2 separate regions of the Homo sapiens genome follow, and region 1 is linked to region 2. The links are contacts of gene promoters, found by promoter capture Hi-C in blood cells and fetal thymus (Javierre and others, 2016). All regions are on one chromosome and are shown on one strand. The core of a region is centred on a gene start or on the middle of the fragment in contact, and the rest is flanking DNA. Distances in the headings are between cores, read along the strand shown. Region 1 overlaps ARPC2 (actin related protein 2/3 complex subunit 2). Region 2 holds the start of VIL1 (villin 1).

Evidence for each region. The method cuts DNA at HindIII sites, captures the fragments that hold promoters and counts their contacts. A CHiCAGO score of 5 or more calls a contact.
Region 1: a fragment that was not itself captured here is called in contact with the fragment with the promoter of VIL1 in region 2 in 3 of 17 cell types (total CD8 T cells, naive CD4 T cells and monocytes); the score reaches 7.6 in total CD8 T cells.

The regions. Positions count from the first base shown.
Region 1 is chr2:218,229,050-218,231,952 of GRCh38, forward strand. The region is part of intron 4 of ARPC2 (actin related protein 2/3 complex subunit 2); the gene reads left to right. Among named protein-coding and RNA genes, the nearest start is that of ARPC2, 13 kb to the left of the region's middle. The HindIII fragment of the contact is 1,516 bases long and covers 829-2,344 here.
Region 2 is chr2:218,417,684-218,420,849 of GRCh38, forward strand. VIL1 (villin 1) reads left to right here and starts at 1,440. Exons shown (of 20, transcript NM_007127.3): 1 at 1,440-1,485. The HindIII fragment of the contact is 19,335 bases long and covers 1-3,166 here.

The sequences.
Region 1 (2,903 bases), core at 337-2,836, 190 kb before region 2:
TGGAAACAAAAATAGCTTTAGTTCTCCAAAAACATAGCAAAGAATACTTTTCCTTGATCAGTACAAAAATAGCTGTTGCAAGAATTAGGTTCTGTTCTATTTTTGTAATATTATCAAGGCAGATAGATAACTTCTAGCTTGTTTAAATTTTATAGTCTCAGGTTCTCATTCTGGAGGCTTAGGCACAAATAGCTGTCTTTTGAAATTTTTAATTAAAGCTCTTTAAAGCTACCGTCTTTAAATATCTCTTCTTTATAACTACCATAGGGGAAATAAGAAAGATGTCCAGACATTATGAAACTTCGGTGGCCATGCCTTGTTCACTGGCTTCTTTAAATAGTTAAGTAGCAGGTTTGGTTCCTGTTGAACTGTATTTGCTCTGAGGAGAGCCATTTATGGAAGAAAGAAAATGCTATTACACCAGTTTGTGCACGCTGTGGTTGGGTCTCAAAGCAGGAAATATGACTCAGTTCCTGAATCAGTTTTCAAATTTCTTAGTTTTAACAAACTAGGTTCTCCTTAATCTGTTAAATGAAGATATAACCATAGCTGTTTCTTTCTGAAAAGTAGTAGCTTTTGAATTATTTAAAACTTATATAATAAAAGATGATTTGTAAAGGAATATGGTCAAAAGCTTGTTTAATTTTTTAGCATAAAAACTAAAATTAGTCTTAATACCAAGAGCCATTGGTTGCTTCCCTTAGTTATTCAAATGCAATTGATTTTCTCATAAGTTCAAAGAAAGAAGAAATATTTAGAGGATTTGGAATCCAGATTAGTTTACTGGAAAAAGAAAAGCTTCAGAAAGAAGACCTAGTGCTTTTATAAAGCTTATGAAGAATTGTTTTGTAAAAGATAGTGGCTGACACTTCTTTACCAGATAAAGAGTGAAAGAAAACAAATGGCTATTAAAGCAGCCCTGCCTCTTTTTTTTTTTTGAGGTGGAGTCTCACTCTGTTGCCCCAGGCTGTACTGCAGTGGCGCCAGCTCAGCTCACTGCAACCTCCAACTCCTGGGTTCAAGCAGTTCATCTGCCTCAGCCTCCTGAGTAGCTGGGATTACAGGCATGCACCGCTACACCTGGCTAATTTTTTGTACTTTTCATAGAGATGGCGTTTCACCACATTGGCCAGGCTGCTCTCAAACTTCTGACCTCAGGTGATCTGCCTGCCTCGACCTCCCACAGTGCTAAGATTGCAGGTGTGAGCCACCGTGCCCAGCCTTTTCTTTTTTTTTTCTTTTTTTTTTTTTTTTTTTTTTTTGACAAGGTCTTGTTCTGTCACCTAGGCTGGAGTGCAGTGGCACAATCACAGCCACTGCACCCCTCAACCTCCCAGGCTCAAGCAGTCCTCTCACCTCAGCCTCCTGAGTGTCTGGGACTACAGGCACGTGCCACCACACCTGGCTTATTTTTTGTTTGTTTGTTCTTTAGAGAGAGGAGGTTTCACTATGTTGCCCAGGCTAGTTTCAAACTCCTGGGCTCAAGCAGTCCTCCTTCCTGGGCCTCCCAAAGTGCTGGGATTATAGATGTGAGCCACCATGTCCAGCTGCATCGCTGCTTTGGATCAGCTATAACTACCTGAAAAGAAGTGTTAAAATATTTGAATAGACTTTTTTTAAATTGTGTAATCATTCTCCCCTAGACAGTCTTCACTAGGTGCAAGCCTGCACAGTGGCACACACCTGTAGTGCCAACTGTGTGTTGGGACTTCACACAGTTGGCTTGAGGGGTTCAAGTGGGGAGAGTTGCTGGAGCCCAGGAGTTCAAGTCCAGCCTGGACGACATAGTGAGATTCCACCTCAAAAAAAGGAAAAGATCTAAATGCAATAATAATAATCCTGGAAAGAAAGAGTTAAGCTAGATTTCTTAAATCTCCTTTCCATTCTGTGCTTTTCTTACGATGGAGCTCCAGAACACATTGCTATTCTTGTAGCTACCACAAGGGTCAAAGAACCAGCCCCACCCACTCAAGTGGGTGGAGTAAGTAACATTCATAGTGTTGGAGCAGAGTGCACAGTAAATGGCTCCCTGGGTTGGTTAAACAGTGACCAACCCATGATAACCACAGGAAGGTTATTACTTTGTCACAGGCCATTTTTAAAGGTGGAATGCCTCTGCTGCTAGAGTGGGAAGGTAATGGTGATGAGTGATAGGTTGCCTCCACCCATCTCCTGGTGTCATTGGGAGAGGGGGTACAAACTGAAAAGTGAATCATGGTTAAAAGTGCAAGTGAAGTGACAAGGAAGTGTTGGCTGGTTTTACCAAGGGGAGGGAGCAAAGCAGTTGAACATGATATAAATTTGGCTCTCAGTACCTCTTAGATCTCAGAATATTAACTTAGTAAGCTTGAAATTAAACTAAATCTTAGGGACTTAGGGATTTAAACTAAATCCCCACCACATCTGATTTCCCCTTCCTCGAAATACCAATAGTACGTGCAACACAGACTTGTAGCTCAGAGGTCGCATGCTGTTTCAAATTCTTGGGATATGCATGTTACTTTTTTTTAAAGAAGTGGTATATCAGACACCTGAAGGTCAAGTCTCTCTGTGCCACCAAGAAACTCTCGTGACCTTGAGCCCCTCCTCTCAATTCCTCTTCGGTAAAAGAAATACCTCACAGTGGCTGTGCAATCACCAAATAGGAACTACAGGTGGCATTATTTATCTTTTGCCCTTGTGTAAGAAAATGTAGTCTTGCAGGTTGAAAATTTCTTCCAGCTATAGGAAAATGGTTAAATAAATATGTGGAATATTAGGAAATTATTGTTCAGCCAGGCGTGGGGGCTCATTCCTGTAATCCCAGCACTTTTGGAGGCCAAGGCAGGAGCATCGCTTGAGGTCAAGAGTTCAAGCCCAGCCTGGGCAACGTAGTGAGACCCTGTCTTTGTATATAAATAAAT
Region 2 (3,166 bases), core at 190-2,689:
CACTTCACGTCACCCTCCTAAGGACCAGGCTTCACAGGTGATAGGAGAATTTCTGCAGTCTGGGAGGCAGCTGCCCAAGGTGCTGAGTTTGCGTGTGAAGCTGGTTTCTCAGCGAGATCCACGCTGGAGTTGGCTGCACAACTTTCCTGCCTGAGTGAGATGGATCCCCTAGGGTCAGGGGTCAGACATGGAAACCTTGGCTTCTGGGAGAGGGTAGCAGAACAGAGTTCAAAGGCACTGGTTTATGGCATCTCATAAAAACTCCAGGTGGGCCGGGTGCAGTGGCTCACGCCTGTAATCCCAGCACTTTGGGAGGCCGAGGTGGGCGGATCACGAGGTCAAGAGTTCAAGACCAGCCTGGCCGACATGGTGAAACCCCGTCTCTACTAAAAATACAAAAATTAGCTGGGCGTGGTGGTGTGCGGCTGTAATCCCAGCTACTCGGGAGGCTGAGGCAGGAGAATCACTTGAACCCAGGAGGCGGAGGATGCAGTGAGATGAGATCACGCCACTGCACTCCAGCCTGGGCGACAGAGACAGACTCCATCTCAGCAAAAAAAACGAAAACAAAAAAAACACTCCAGGTGGAGCCAGTGCCCCTAAGGGTGGAGAGGAGGAGCAGTTGTGCTCACTGGGGCCCTTGCTAAGTGAGGGTCATGCTGAGAAGAGACCTCTAGGAGACCTCTAAGAGACCTCCCATCTGTTCTGGAGGGGCCCTGAGTATAAGTCCCTGCATTCCTGGGTTTGGGGCTTCTGCAACCCTAGAGTCCTGCCTCTCTTTCTCCATGAACCATTCACCCCAGGGCAGGTGGGAGGACAGCTGAGCCTCCTTCTCTTGGTTGGTAGGAGGAAAGGTTCAGGCGCCGCTGACCCTACCTGGACAGTGCTGTCTGCCTGTGGTGAGGGCCTGGGCCCTGGGCAGAAAAGCACCCCATCCCTTGCTCACTCAGAAGCCAAGGGAGGGGCTGGGCGCCGGGCCTCACACCTGTAATCCCAGCACTTTGGGAGGTCGAGGCAGGTGGATCATTTGAGGTCAGGAGTTCAAGTCCAGCCTGGCCAACATGGTGAAACCCTGTCTCTGCTAAATATACAAAAATTAGCCAGGCATGGTGGCACATGTCTGTAGTCCCAGTTACTTGGGAAGCTGAGGCAGGAGAATCACTTGAACTTGGGAGGCGGAGGTTGCAGTGAGTCGAATTCATACCACTGCACTCCAGCCTGAATGACAGAGTGAGGCTCAAAAAAAAAAAAAAGCCAAGGGTGGGGCACATCAGCTCTCATTGTCAGGCTGTGGAGGGCTCTGGGCTCCCAGGGACCTGGCAGCACCTGCCTCCCCACCCCCTCACCTCTCTGGGGCCCTATCTTCCCTTATATGGTGAAGGCAGTTCCTAGAGGAGGGGGGGTGGGGACAAAGGTCGCTCTTCTGCAGCCAGCTTGCCACAATTCCCTGAGATCTCCCAGGTGGCAGCTGCCTCCCCAAGACAGGTAAGGCAACCTGGTGGGAACACATGGAGACCTTAGGTGGTGCGAGGGGACGGGGTCCTCTGCTTTTCTCGGGCAACTTGGGGCCTCCTGGAGCACCTTGGTACGGGCTCGAAGGGGAGGCTTGACACTCTGGATAGCGTGAGAAGTGCTGGGAGCCCAGTGTGTCTGCCCTGGGCCTCCAGGGAGAGACTTTTGCAGGCCCTGCCCCAGACAATGGCTCTCTCAGTCTCCTACCTGTGGCTAGCCCCATCCCACTTTGGGTGTCACCATCCCAATTGCCCTGGAACTTCTAGAGTTAAAACCAGGACAGTGCTGGGCAGACCGGGACTAGTTGGTCTCCCTGACCTCACTCCCCGAGCCCCCTCCCCACCAGCTCATCTCTTTGCCCGTGCGTTCTTCATCTGAAGTGTTTTTTTCTTTGTGTCACCATTCCTCTGACACTCCTGGGACCTCCGGGTCCTGCCTCCTGGCTCCTAGCATATGAGCAACAGCCACCAGCAATTGAATGGGCACACACAGAGGCAAGGGCAGAGGCAAGGGGCTGGAGGTGGCAGGGCCTTAGGTCCTGGGCCATGCCGGGCCACCCTAGCATGCACCTCTGCCCCATCTCCCCTCTACCCGGAGCTGCCCCATTGGCCTCCCCAGCCACTGTGGGCCCATTCAGCAGAACTAGGAATGGGAGCTAGCTGCAGACCAGGCTCTGAGGACACACTGGCTGCTGTCTTCTCGGGACATCATCTGCTGGGGCAGAGCCTTTGGGCTGGAGGGTCTTGGCGGGTGTCCATTCCCTCTTCTATCATGAGCCTGGGAAGCAGGAGGATGTCCTTTGTCTGAGGGGTGGGACTTCACCCCCACTGCCCCACCACATTCCTGTCCAGCTCAGAGCTGCACGACTGGGAACTAGGAGCCGTGGCAGCACCCCACTTACAACAGAGCCGCAACTCAAGTACAACAGGGCTCAGATAAGAAAGGCATGGTGGGCCAGGTGCAGAGCCTCATGCTTGGAATCCCAGCACTTTGGGAGGCCAAGTGGGGTGGATCACTTGAGGTCAGGACTTCAAGACCAGCCTGACCAACATAGTGAAACCCCGTTTCTACTAAAAATACATAATTAGCTGGGTGTGCTCGCGCACGCCTATAGTCCCAGCTACTCGGGAGGCTGAGGCACGAGAATCGCTTGAACCCAGGAGGCGGAGATGACAGTGAGCCAGAATTGCACCATTGCACTCCAGCCTGGGTGACAGAGTGAGACTCTGTCTCAAAAAAAAAAAAAAAAAAAGAAAAGAAAAAAAGAAAAAAGAAAGAAAGGCAAGATGGACCTGCAGACAGTGGGAGCCCAAACCCCTCCAGTGCCCTGGGAGGGTCCTCCTTCCATCCCACAGTTCAGCCTTTCAGCATCATGAGTATTTGTTTTTTTTTTTTTTGTTTTTTTTTTGAGAAGGAGTCTCACTCTTTCATCCAGGCTGGAGTGCAGTGGCGTGATCTCAGCTCACTGCAGGCTCCACCCCCTGGGTTCACGCCATTCTCCTGCCTCAGCCTCCCGCGTAGCTGGGACTACAGGCGCCCACCATCTCGCCCGGCTAATTTTTTGTATTTTTAGTAGAGACAGGGTTTCACCGTGTTAGCCAGGATGGTCTTGATCTCCTGACCTCGTGATCCGCCTGCCTCGGCCTCCCAAAGT